2 separate regions of the Homo sapiens genome follow, and region 2 is linked to region 1. The links are contacts of gene promoters, found by promoter capture Hi-C in blood cells and fetal thymus (Javierre and others, 2016). All regions are on one chromosome and are shown on one strand. The core of a region is centred on a gene start or on the middle of the fragment in contact, and the rest is flanking DNA. Distances in the headings are between cores, read along the strand shown. Region 1 holds the start of MAF (MAF bZIP transcription factor). Region 2 overlaps WWOX (WW domain containing oxidoreductase).

What was found. The method cuts DNA at HindIII sites, captures the fragments that hold promoters and counts their contacts. A CHiCAGO score of 5 or more calls a contact.
Region 2: a contact is called between a fragment that was not itself captured here and the fragment with the promoter of MAF in region 1, in 1 of 17 cell types (M2 macrophages). The highest score is 6.6, in M2 macrophages.

Annotation. Positions count from the first base shown.
Region 1 is chr16:79,596,924-79,603,873 of GRCh38, forward strand. MAF (MAF bZIP transcription factor) reads right to left here and starts at 3,814. Exons shown (of 2, transcript NM_005360.5): 1 at 1,862-3,814. The coding sequence starts at 2,979. LOC101928230 (a long non-coding RNA gene) reads left to right here and starts at 3,964. Exons shown (of 3, transcript NR_188556.1): 1 at 3,964-4,066; 2 at 5,124-5,427. RefSeq lists an enhancer at 3,729-4,023. The HindIII fragment of the contact is 16,856 bases long and covers 1-6,950 here.
Region 2 is chr16:79,043,607-79,050,556 of GRCh38, forward strand. All of the region lies in intron 8 of WWOX (WW domain containing oxidoreductase), which reads left to right. Among named protein-coding and RNA genes, the nearest start is that of WWOX-AS2, 550 kb to the left of the region's middle. The HindIII fragment of the contact is 814 bases long and covers 3,734-4,547 here.

The DNA of each region.
Region 1 (6,950 bases), core at 2,564-5,063:
GTGCAATTCAGTCCCAAATACTTTAATTTTGAAAAGAAAAAAAAACATACATTTTTGAATGTAAAATACCCCTACAGATATAAACAGGGGCGTTTCCCCTCTTAATACTTTGGTTTTCAATACAGTCAGTGGTATAGCAAAGACTACACATACCCAACTTATATTTAAGTTGCAAGCACATGCTGTATAAGCTACTTTTTTTAAACAGTCCCCTTGCAAACTCTACCCCCCTTAACATCACAATAGTAAACAATTTAGTGCATCAATCGTTTAAAAAATCTACAGCTAAACAGACCTAACTCTTTCAAATTTATCTATAACATTCCTTTATCTGTAGCATACATTTTAACTGGGCTAACAGATTATAAAAACTAGAATTAAATTATATACTAGAAACCCAGAGCATTCCACATTTGACAATGACCAAAAGCCAAAAAATATAAAATAAAAATAAAACAAACCAAAAATAATGGGGCAGTTTCTCTTTTTAAAAAATAAATTTTAGACTGCTTCTCGGCAATAGCACAATTTTAGTCCCCAAAGTGGGGCGTCATTCTTATTAAAAAGAAAACATTAAGAGTTCTTCAATGTTTGCCAGGTTAAATGTGTAACCCATTCTGGTATCTTTGACAAGGAATGCCTTCAGTGCATTGGGAGGTTGAAGTTCTGAGTAACTCAAAGCAGTTTTGGAGCAGATGCAAAATTTCATGGGAAGAAGGCTCTACGGTTGCACTGTTTTGTTCTAAACTCAAAAAAGTCATGAGGCAATAAAACAAAAGTATGAATGCCATGCTATAAGTCTTCGAACGTCCATTTCCAAGCCAAAAGGAAAAAAAAAGGAAAAAATAATTATACCATACATGTCCAGCATGCAGGCTTTTTTTTTTTATTAATATAATGTCTCTTTTCCATAAAGTCTTTGAAACAGTTATAGTTCATTGTTGCTAAGACAAAGTAGCAAGCATAATAATGCATGAGATGAGAATGAGTTTTTTTAATGGCAGACTAAACTCTCAGATTTGGCATCACAAGGCCAAAACTCACAAGTCACACCCAGAAGGTTGATGCAGGCTTGATTGTGGAAGGTTCATGAGGATTTTTTTCTCTATTTTAGCATAACAATGCTAAAAAAAAAACCCGATGGAACTCGGCACGCTGCAAGTCTATAACATTTCACATTTTTTTTTCCTTTGCAAGCTCAATCTCACATGAAGAACTCAGGAGAAGAAAAAAAAACTTTGCTTTTTTTTTTCTTTCATCTCGGAAGAGATGGGTTGAGAAGGAGTGAGGGTGGAGGTTGGAAAAAAGGTGGGCAACACAGCAAGCTCTAAAAGTAAAATTAAAAAAAAAAATCCAAACAAAATAAAACACACACACACACAGAAAATGAACACCAGTTCATGAACTGAAGGGGAAGAAGAAGAAAAAATATGTGAATGATGCAGGCTTCAAAGGTGATCAACGTTTCACATGAAGAACTCTGCTGAGATCATTGAACATTGTGCAAGTCCGGGGGTGGGGCGGGGGGGTGTAAAAAAAAAAAAAAAACAAGCTAGCAAGTTATGGAGAATTTCAGATTGGCAATCCATGAGCCAGACACCCATTCCCTCCCCAGTTTAAAACAGCCACCACCACCACAAACTCGAGCAGGGTGTGGGGTGTGTGTGTGTGTGTGTGTGTGTGTGTGGTGTGTGCGTGCGGGTTTGTGTGTGTGTAGGGGGCCAAGGGGGCCAAACTCGGTGGGGGTGGGGGTGGTGAGGTGGTGGCGAGCATGGCTCTAGAACTAGCAAGCCCACACCCGAGCCGGACCCCCGCGGAGCACTTATCAGGGTGGCTAGCTGGAATCGCGTGTCAGACTCACATGAAAAACTCGGGAGAGGACGGGTTGTCGCTGCTCGAGCCGTTTTCTCGGAAGCCGCTGCTCACCAACTTCTCGTATTTCTCCTTGTACGCGTCCCTCTCGCGCACCAGCCTGGAGATCTCCTGCTTGAGGTGGTCGACTTGCTGCAGCAGCTGGTTCTTCTCCGACTCCAGGACGTGTCTCTGCTGCACCCTCTTGAAGCGGCAGGACTGGGCATAGCCGCGGTTTTTCAGGGTCCGCCTCTTCTGCTTCAGCCGGATCACCTCCTCCTTGCTGACCCCGCGCAGCTGCCGGTTCAGCTCGCGCACAGACATGGTCACCAGCTGCTCGTCGGAGAAGCGGTCGTCGAAGTGCAGGCCGCCGGCGGCGTGGTGCGGGTGCAGGGCGCCCCCCGCCCCCGCCGCGCCCCCGCCGCCTCCGCCGCCGCCGCCGCCGCCGCCGCCCCCAGCGCTGGCCGGGCCACCGCCGCCCGCGCCCCCAGCGCCACCGGCCGAGGCGGCCGCGCTGCCCGCGGCGCCGGGCGCGCCGGCCGTCGGGTGGTGGTGGTGGCCGGCGGCGTGGTGGTGGTGGTGGTGGTAGTGCGGGCCCGCGCCGCTCTGCGCGGCGGCCGCGGCGATCACGGCGGACACCACGGCGGCGGCGGGGCCCATCTCCTCGCCGCTGCCGCCCAAGGAGGCGCCGGCACCGGCCCCGGCCGCCGCGGCCAGCTGCTGCGCCCCGCGCGCGTAGCCATCGAAGCCGCCCTGGAGCTGGTGGCTGTTGCTGATGAGCGCCTCGACCGCGTCCTCGGGGCTGAAGCCCAGCGCCTCGGGGTTCAGCTGCTGCGGGTAGCCGGTCATCCAGTAGTAGTCTTCCAGGTGCGCCTTCTGCTCGCTGCCCGAGCCCGGGCTGGGCGCCGAGAAGCTGGGGGAAGGGGGCACCGAGCTGCACGGCGTGCTCATGGGGGTGGAGGACAGCGAGCCCCCGGCGATGAGACGGCCGCACTGGCTGATGATGCGGTCGGTCTCCACCGGTTCCTTTTTCACTTCAAACTTCATCAGATCGAAGTCATTAACATATTCCATGGCCAGGGGACTGGTGGGCAGGTCGGAGTTGCTCATTGCCAGTTCTGATGCCATTCTCCTGCCGCCGCCGCCGCCGCCGCCGCCGCTCCGCCAGATGGGCTGCAGGAGAGGGGCCAGCGGGCTGTGCTGGGTGGCCAGCGGGTGAGCCAGCTTGCCGGGCTGGGGCGCTTCTAGCTTGCGCGGCGGTGGCTGGCCCGAAACCTCCGAGCGCGCTCACACACACACCCCCCCGCCCTGCCCGCGCCCCCCGCGCCCGCCCTCCCTCCCCCCTGCTCACGCCAATGTGCTCCCTCGCTCGCCCCGGCCCCTCCTTGCTCGCTCGCCTCCTTGCGCGCCGAGCCGGCGGCTTCAGGCTCGGGAAGATCCTCCGCGAGCTGCGGTGGCGGCGGTGGTGGCTGCGGCGGCGAAGCTGGAGGAGCCCGGCCCGGTGCGCGGCGTCCCCCGCTCGCCGCTCCGCTGCGCGCTTTGCATAAGGAAGGGCTCGCCTCGCCGGCCCGGGCTGCAGGCAGGGCGCGCGCGGCGTCCGCTCGGGGCTGGAGGCGCGGCGGGCGTCTGTCCGGGCGGCGCGGGCCTTGGCACGGGGGAGTTAACACTTCATGCTTCTCGCCTCCTCTTCTGCTTGGCTCTCTTTATTATTTTTTTTCTTTCCTCTCTCTCCCTCGCGCGCTCTCTACCTCTGTGCAAAGTGCAAGGCAGAGGTGCAGCCCGACTGGAGGAGAGGGAGGGGGGAGTTTAGTTCTTTCTTGCCTTTTTTTAAAAAAGCAAAATAGCGAAGTCCTGGGGAAAGACGAGGCAGAGAGCAAAGGGGGGAGGGGGAGGCCAAGCCGACAAGCAGCCCGAGCTACAGCTAGAAGATGAAAAAAGATTTTAAAGCCTCTGATCCAGCAAGAAGAGTTTAAAGCAATTGCTGAGTTTTATAGCACTCGTGACGTCAGGTCCAAATGAGAAATTGACTGGCACTCCGGGCCAATGGGAGGCGGCGAGAGCGGCCGCGATTAGCATAATAGTATAGAAACAAGGAAACTTTTCGGAGCTGTCAATCAGGGCCCAATCAGCTGACTGTCAGCTGGGACGGGCTGGCTTAACCCTTCCTGCGCCGCTGCCTACCCGGGAGGGAACGAGGCCCGGCGCAAAGTTTGGTGTAAGAGGGGAAGGAGTTTTTCCAGAGGGGCTTCGGCAATCCGGGCGGACCTGGGAGGGCGGTTTGCTTTTCTTTGGAGCGCGAGACAGGCCTCCCATCCGGAGCCCCAGCTCGCTGGGGGCTCACTCGGCTGGGATTGGCCTGATTCCCCTCCCCTGCCTGCCCTCCACCCCCAGGATTGTGAATTCGCCTCCCAGCTTTTCCTCCTCGCACCAACTCTGGTACCCAGGTGTCTGCCGGGGACCTTCCTTCCCTGAGCCTGGCCGTGCCCGGCGCTCAAACTTGGCCCCAACTCTTTGTCCGTCTCTCGGGCGCCCGTGCGGGGAAGGGACCGGGAAGGGAGGGATGCAGTGGGGTGTCCGGATCGGGGCTGCGGGCTGGGCGCCGCCCGGCCATGCGCCTGCCCAGAAGGCTGGGCATCCGTGGAGAGGGAAAGCCCATTTTATCCCTCTCTTTACAACGAGGTAAAATAAGTTGTTTAGAGGCCATTCTTCACGGAGACCGGCTGCCCGCTGGCGTCGCGTGCCCTTGGACAGAGCGAGCGCCTATGCGAGATAACTCCGGGGAAGCTCAAAGTCAGGTCAGCCGGGCTCAGCCTTCCGGCTCCTGACTGGCCGGAGTTTGGCCTTTGAGACTCATATTGCGCGCTCGCTCTCTCTCTCTCTTACACACACACACACAAACACACACACACTCACACTCACCCGTCCCCTTACGAAATCTGACCTCTGTTTATCAGGGTCAGGCGCGCCCTTTGCACTTTTACGTTTCCTTTAATTATTTCGGACTTGATCGTGGCAGGGAGCAAGGGGGAAAAACAATACCCCAGCCCTCACCAGCTACCCTCGAAGGGTTAAATTTTAAACCGCGGTTTCTGGAACTAGTCCGGAAACGCAGAGTGGGGGGTGGGGTGGGGGAGGCTGCTCCCCCCACCCCCAGTTGCAAATGCTAATAAGTAGTTCAAATTTCTAGATTGATTCTCTAAAAGTTTATGCAAAAAAGAAATAAAAAAGAAAAAGAAAAAAGAAGGAAACCAACAACTAACTCTGTTTCTAAGATTTTAAAGCGATAGGCAAGTCGAAGAAGCAGAGATTTATTTGGAGAGAAAGCTCCTGAAACCGACCCAGCCTTTGGAAGACCAGCCCGTCTGCTTAGAAGTTGGGACTGTTGATTCCTTCAATTAATGAAATGCATTTGGTGTTTTTAATCGTATTTATTTTACTTTATGAGAAGGGGGAGACGCTAGGAGGGTGCATTAAAAAAAAAAAAAAATTCTGAAAAGCCTGCAAAAGGATCGAAGAGTGGAAACTATTGTTGGAGCGAGTTGGTTTTTACCTCAACAGCGCCACCTTTCGGCAAAGGTCAGTTGAAATTGATCCGTGTCCAGTTTTGTCGATGAAGTGAAAAGCAGCTGGTTACCCAGTGTGGGAGGAGGAAAGAGACACACAAAGTTAGTTTGACTGAAGTGGGAGAACCCGACCCTATAGGAAAGGGGCCGAAGAAAGTGCTGGCAGATGCAGAGATCATTTTTGCCCCTCCTCTTCTCCTTGATTGTTGACAAAGAGGCCAGGGGATACAGACACCCTCGGGGTGTAATTTCTGGCTGAGACCTTTGCAAGAGGATCCCCATGTAACAGGGCCCCAAACCCTTTAAAAGTGCCAGGATGGATTTTCAACGGGCTTTATGGCAATATCAATAGGATTAAAGTTACTTGTAATTCAGTGATAAATGAGATGTCTCTAGTAAGTAAGATTAAGTGCAGTGCTATAAAGTTGTTTATCTGGAAAGTAATTCTCAGAAAACCTGACTTCTGACACTTAGTCATATATTAAGCCAGCGTCTTGAACATTGCACTTCAGAATGGTCTTCCCCACCCCGCAGCATGCTTTGCTATTTATAACCTCAGGTGTCTCTCACTCGTTCCTTGCACCATATTAGACCTGTGTTAATTTCTCTGATCCTAGTAGACTTCAGTTTCAGCAAACCCAGGAATCCTTAATGGAAGACTTCCCAAAAGATTCGTAGGCACACCCTAATCTGAAAAGGGCAGCGCTGTCGGTATTTTTCAGACAAGTAGTGTTTCTTTTCATCGTGACTGCAGAGAAGTTGTTAATAAGGGTAGTTTTGGTCTTATAAGAGCATTTTGTTGGGTGGAATAAACTATGTCTATTACCAGTTTGGGGAAGAAAGAGTGAAGATTATGTCAATATTTATGCAACCTAGCAGAATTCCCTTGCTTTCCTTCTCTTTAACAATATTTTCCCTAGTAATGAAGTTAAGGGATTATAGTTTATTTAGAGGAAAATCCACACTTTCCATTACATAAGCATTATGTCATTTAACATTGCCCGTAACAATAGTTTTCTAGGTCTTTTTAAAAGTCAGTAGTCACAAATGTAGGAAGTTTATATTTTTCATGTAAAATATGAATTTAAGTGTATTTAGAAAGAATTTATTGTTTGTTTATGATATACTTTTAATCCTTTTGCATCATATTTGTGTTAAAAGCTGTAAGGTATGATCATTGCCTCTGAAAGCAGTATTATAATAAATAATAAATAATATTTTATACACAAAGTTTGCTAATGATGAAGACTGTGCCATACACATTCATGGCTGAGTATCTAATTGTTACATTGTTATATATCATTTCTAGAAATTAAATGCCCATGTTTGGGCAGCTAAATATATTATTATCTGCACATTTTTATGGTTTATTTATGTACACTGCTGTGAAGACATGGTATTTTTATTTCTCTTATTGCAAGGTCTTTTATAGTCGCCCATTTTCTCTTGGAAAAAAAAAAGAGAGGATCAGAATTATTTTTTTAGATGTGTAGCAGTAATGCTCTCAGGCTTATAACTTAATTCTCATTTTTATCC
Region 2 (6,950 bases), core at 2,891-5,390, 550 kb before region 1:
TAATAACACACAAACCCACATTTTATTAAGTAAGTAATTTGAGACATGATGATTTTTGTCATGTAAATAGGATCAGGCTGACCAGTATAGACTGGGCAGAGGAAGATTCATAACCAGGGAATTAATCTCTGGATCCAGGCTGAAATGATATTATCAGACACCTTTCTTTCTCTGGTCCTCAGTTTTGATCTCTTCTCTGCTAGCTTTATTCTAAGACAGGCTTAGATGGGATGTAGAGAGCAAACTCTGGAAGTGGAGTACCTCTGGCCTCCAAGGCCAGTAGTTGTAGCAAAAGTCCAGGGCTGCCGCTCATTCACTCTGCTCGGACCTTTCTGGTCACTTGTCTTCTGTGGTTTGGTCCTTGTGGCCAGGGACAATGAAACTCTCATTGATTAGGCCTGAGTTATGTGCTCTCTCCTAGAGCCAGGAAGAGGCTTCGGCCCTGCCCAGACCCGGTGGCCTGAGAGTCACAGTGAGGCGCAGCTCCCAAAGGGAGACTGAAATATAAGCAAAAGAAAAGGAACACGTACTGGGAATCCCAAACAGCAAATGTTCACTGTGTTCAGGGAGGAGTCTTCAGGCCCACAGTGTAGGCATTCAACAAACGCTCTTCAGGGAGAAGGAAAGTTACCATCAAAATCCGTCGTTGAAAGTATTGAAGTTCCAGCTGGCGGTCTGATACAGCTTAGATGTTGTCCCTGCCCAAAGCTCATGTCAAAAGGTAATCTGCAGCGTTGGAGGTGGGGCATGGTGGGAGGTGATTGGGTCATGGGGGTGGATTTCTCATGAATGGTTTACCACCATCCTCTTGGTACTGTCCTCACGATAGTGAGTGAGTTGTTGGGGGAGCTGGTCATTTAAAAATGTGTGGCACAGCCCCCCACCCTGTCTCTTGCTCCTGCCCTGGCCACATGACGTGCCTGCTCCGCCTTCTCCTTCTGCCATGATTGTAAGCTTCTTGAGACTTCCCCCAGAAGCCAGGCAGCTGCCAGTATCATGTTTCCTGTACAGCCTGTGGAACTATGAGCCAATTAAACCTCTTTTCTTTATAAATTACCCAGTCTCAGGTAATTCTTTATAGCAATGCAAGAATGGCCTAATACATGGTCTCTGAGCAGGATTATTGTAGAGGGGACTGATGTTGAAGAATGGAAAAGAAGGCAGTGTCAGAGAATGCTGAAGAGTGTGGATCTTAAAGTCCAACCTCAAGGCCCAGCGCTGCCACTTAACAGCTCTGTGACCCTGTAAAGTCACTCAGCCTCATTGAGTCCCCCATCCTCCCCTGTGTAGAATGAGGCTAATGCTAGTGCTCATTTCATAGAGTTGCTACAATAATCAATGAGATAATGTGCATAAAGATTTACATACATAATAACTGCTCAATAAAGGGTAGATGTTAAAATTAGCATCAGCGAGCTCTAGAAGATGCTAAGTTCTCTGGAAAGATCAGCTCTGCTCCTGTCAATCTCTCCAAATGTTAGATTTTGCCTCAAATTTTAGGCATTCGTTCATTCATTTATTCTTTCGTAAATTCTATCGCATTAACCTTTACAAGTGTTAAATTAAATCTTTTCCCCAAATTATGCATTAGAACCAAGTTCTTATGTGGTGGATGTACCTCATTTCAGCAAGAGCTTTCTAAGGGTACAGAATTAAATATGCAGCCTCTGGGATTCAGTGATAGCTCATGGGACATTTGACCTACATGGAAATGCAGGCTGGAGTTGCATTTTAATTGGCAAGGATCAGCCCAGTTGTCCAGCTTGTAGCTTGGAGTGTGGCCTGGCTCCCACTCCAGAGAGATGTACATCATGATCTGCGTGGGTGAGAGGATACTCTCAGGAAATGGGCAAAGTTGCCAGCTGACCTCTCCAGAAAGAGAGACTATGTTGTTAGTTTCCCTTACTTGGATGAGAAATTTCTCCATTCCTAGTCTCATTTTCCCAATAGAACACGGAGGCAGAATTTAAAGCCTCAAAACAATCTGATGCACATCAGCTATCAATGAAAAGGACCAGCTTGGAGGCAGAGGCACCTGAGTTTTGCATCTTGGCTCAATCACTTACTAACTGCATTGTGGGTTAACACAGTGTGTGTGTGTGCACTTACTAACTGTGCAACTGTGGGCAAGTGATGTAATCTCTCTGGAGCTCGTCTTTCCTTTTTTCTTTTCCTTTTTTTTTTTTTTTTTTTTTTTTTTTTTTTTTTTTTTTGAGATGGAGTCTCACTCTGTTGCCCAGGCTGGAGTGCAGTGGCACAATCTCAGCTCACTGCAACCTCTGCCTCCCGGGTTCAAGTGATTCTCCTGCCTCAGCCTCCCAAGTAGCTGGGACTACAGGTGCACACCACCATGGCTGGCTAATTTTTGTATTTTTAGTAGAGACGGGCTTTCACCATGTTGGCCAGGCTGGCCTCGAGCTCCTGACCTCAGATGATCTGTCTGCCTTGCCCTCCCAAAGTGCTAGAATTACAGGCATAAGCCACTGCACCCGGCCACAGTTTTCTTTTCTATATTGTAGGGATAATAATCCTCCCTTGCAGGACTGTGCTCAGCACATGTTCATTGCTCAAGAGAAGTAGCCACTGTTATTATTATTGTCAGTATGTATCCAAGTGTTTAGTTCATTTTCTCTGCATTTGTCTAACTCCCTTTTTTCCCTTGAACTGTAAAGCTCTCAGCCCAGGGATATAGTAGCACCAGCACATAGTAGATGATCAAGAAAAATTAGTCATTCTCTCTGGTTCTTCCTTTCCTGTATCCTGTTGTCTTTATCAGTTCAGGCTGCTGTGACAAAAGTATCACAGACTGGATGGCCTTAACCACAATTGTTTTACATGGTTCTGGAGACTGGGAAGTCTAAGATTAAGGCAGTGGAAGGTTCACTGTCTGGTGAAGGCTGGGCTCCTGATTCATAGATGTCTGCCCTTCTTGTGCATCTTCACATGGTGGGAAGAGGGTGAGAGAGCTCACCGGGGAGTGTTTCTCCCAGTTCCTCCCCAGTACACAGAAAAACAAAGCTTTCTGTCTCACCAGGAGGACTCCACGGTGAGCATAGCTTGGCTCAGCCCAGCAGGAGATTTTGAACCGACTCTGGTAGATTCTTCCTGCAGCCATTCAGCTCCCACCTCTTTCTCTCAAAAAGAAATCCAGGGCTGGGTGTGTGTGGGCAACTTCACCCTGCTCTCTTTGTCCCCCAGGCCTGCACTACAACAAATGTCTCTTTGTGTCCAACTCTTCTTCCATTTCTAGTCCTTCTTTTCTCTTCTTCTCGTACTTCCCATATTCCTAATACGATTGGTTACTCAAATTCTTAAACAACTCACAACTCATTATCTCCCTTCCATGTAAAAGTAACCCCCAGCCTGAGCTACCTGACCCCGTGGTTTAAACAATAAAGCAACTGACCTTTTATCAGAAATTTGCAAAGCCATTTAATTTACATATGTCCTTGGCATCCACAAATATTGCTTCTCCTTTCAACCAGCATGCCACCCTTCCAGCCATTCACATATGTATTCATTCATTCATTCATTTATTCTTTCATTCAGTCAATAAATATTTATTGAGTAGTAAGCACATGCAAGGCATTGAGGGTGGGGAGGGAAAGAGACACAAATTGTCCTTACCCTCATGGATTCACCATGTATTTAAAGGCCACAAATACTTGTGTGAGAAGCAAGTCTTAATAGTCTGAAGTGTTTTCTTAGATTCCCTTGAGCCGCAATGCTGAAAAGCTTATGGTGGTTTTGCTAATGAATTTGACAAGGCCAGAAATAGACCAGATGAAGATTGATCCATTGGTTAATTGATTAATTGATTGATCGACTGAGGAATGTCAGCCTGGTCTACCAAGGTTTATGAAAGCCTGGCATATAGAAATGATGTCGTTAATGCACAAATACCTGCATCCTGTCTTGAACTCCCTCTAGGGGCCACCATGTGTATCAGTGTCCTGTGGCTGCTGTAACAGATTACTACAAATTTTGTGGCATAAAATAACACAAATCGATTCCCTTACAGTTCTGGATGTCAGAACTGGGTGACTTTCTCCTGAGACTGTCCTGATTTTTTTTTTTTTTTTTTTTTTTTTTTTTGCTTGTCAGTTTGTTTTGGGTGATGCAGATGGAAGGTAACGTCACAGGGCAGCTGTATTCCAGGTACTTGGTGACTCTTGGTTGCGATCTGATGACTGGCTCACAGTAGGACCATGACGTGAGCAGATTTGTAGTCCTGCATGAATGAAGGAAAGAAAGAAATCTGACAACTCATTGATTCAGATTCACAGACTCTGCATTTTGAACCAGAATACACCCGAGCAATTACCTAGCACAAAATCTCCTGTCTGCAGAGGAGTTGCAGGAAGGAGAATTCACTATATCCTCTCCTGAAAATATCCCTTGTGGTCAAGGTGGCTATAGACTGGCATCCCTCTGCTCCCTAAGATGCCAGGGACTCACGTCTTCTAGGATATCAGGGGAAGATACAGGGCAATGGGCCTCAGATCACAGACACGGAAAATCATTTTCTATTTCATGGAGCATGGAGAAGCTTCCTTCAAAAAGCTAGCCTTCGACTTTCTATTTTTTGAACTGAAGGGCAGGCCAGGAGGGAGCTGACCTGTGTAGAGCTTGGAGGTTGTGTTTTCAGCTGAGAAAAGTGATCCTGAACCTCTCCATCCTTGCAAAGCTCAGATGGAAGCCCAGGGGCCCCAGCCCTCCAGCCCCACACACATGCCGGTGCACCTGGACTGCCACTCTACCTGTTTACAAATTACCCCCATTTTCTGCTTGGTTCAGCAGCAACTGATTACCGTCCCCCGTGATGTAATTAGGGCTTCAGAGTTCACGTGTGTCTATTATGAGCTCTCCTGTGCTTTGTCTTGGTGCTTCGTTTCTGTAGCAGTAATCATATATATATATAAAAATTTGGTATCAATTGTTTGGCTAAATTATGCACAGTGGGCCATCCTAACCTGCCATTAACATAACGTATGCTAAAGAATGTGTTGTGTTTTTTTGTTTTCTCTGATAATTATACTCTAAAGCATCAATTGCTTATTTGAGTAAATTAAACTTTGAGTTGTTCTTATTTCTTCAAACTTTCAAATTGTCTTGCCTGCAGCAGATGCAGACCCAGCACTCCGGCTGCTGCCAGTGGAGGCAGGAGCCTCGTTACCACCTTTCTGAGAAATTCAAGTGCCACACAGTGGTCACCAGCATTGTAGCTGCCCTGATGTTCCGGGCTCAGCTGCAATATAGCACATCTCTACCACCATCCCCAGAGTGACCTCCAGAACTGTAAGGGACCCCCGCCTTTGGTACAGAGATGGGAGTTAAACACAGGTGTCCACTGGAGTCATGATTCCTCTATTCCCTGGACAAATATGCAATGAGAATCCCTGAGGGACAGGCACTGTGCTAGATACCCGAGATACAAAAGCGACAAGGTTTCTATCCTCTGACAGTTTATACTTTAGTGCAGTGGTCAGCAGACTGTTTCTGCAAACAGCTAGATAGCAAATATTTTAGACTTTGTGACCCATACAGTCACCATCACAACTATTCAGTTCTGCCAGTGTAACTCAAAAGCAGCCATGGCTGTTACATAATGAGTGGCTGTGGCTGTGTGCCAATTAAACTTTATTTACAAAAACAAGAGGAGGGCCAGATTTTGCCTTTGTCAAGGAAGTAAGCATAATAGTGCAAGCAGCACGTGCCCGCTCTTTCACACTGGGGCAAACACAGGGGATTTATTCGGCACAATTGAGTAATGTGGATGAGGCTGCTCAGGGCTGGCAGTTGTAGGACGCAAAACCTTGAGGGGCATCGATATTCTGGTACAGCTGTCACCCATTTGCAGCACAGCTGGGACACTCCACAGAGAATGATCAGGAAGGCCAAGCCCAGATGGCATTGTTGAGGGGCTTTCTCTTAAGACTGCATCTGAGTGGCAGGGCGCAGTAGCTGACCCTTGTAATCCCAGCACTTTGGGAGGCCGAGGTGGGTGGATCACGAGGTCAGGAGTTCAAGACCAGCCTGGCCATGATGGCGAAACCCCGTCTCTACTAAAAATACAAAAATTAGCCTGGCGTGGTGGCCGGCGCCTGTAATCCCAGCCACTTGGGAGGCTGAGGCAGAGAATTGCTTGAACCTGGGAGGTGGAGGTTGCAGTGAGCTGAGATCATCCCACCGCACACCAGCCTGGCCGACAGAGTGAGACTCTGTCTCAAAAAAAAAAAAAAAAAAAGTTACTTCTGAGTTAAAATATGAAGAGTGAGCAGTACCCAGCCATGCAGAAGGACATGGAGTGGTAAAAGCATGTGGTTCCATTAAGGGAAAGACTCCAGGGCAAGAAAAAAACATGTCATGCTTGTACCTGAGGGAAGGCCAGTGTGATTGCAGAGTATGGGGCACCCTGGAGGTCTGGAATGGGAGGAGTTTAAACAGGTCATTAGAGCTTCAAGATGAAGCATAGGCCAGTGACTTGGTTGCTGCTGCTGCGTAACCGTGTGGCAACTGAGTGGCTCACGGCAATCAGTATTTACTTCTCACGTGTGTGTGGGGTTCAGCAGAACTAGGCTGGGCTTGGCTGCCCTGCCCTACTGGTCCTGCTGGTTTTGGTGGGGCTTCCCCCTGTGTCTGTGGGTCAGCTTGTTTTGCTCCTGCATCTTTGCATCAGCTGGGCTTTCTGCCCTAGGCTGGACATGGGTGGGGCACTTTAGCTGGGGTGGTTCTCCTCCACATGTCTCTCATCTTCCTGGGACCAGCAGGGCTAGACCAGACATGACTTTCTTATGGCAAGGGCAGAAATGCAAGACAGCAACTCAAAACACATAAGGACTTTCAAGTCTAGACCCAGAACTGGCATACCCATTCCTCTGTCACACACTGATGCCCCAAATAAATCACATGGCTGAGCTCACGGTTAGAGAGGGAGGATACTGCAGTCC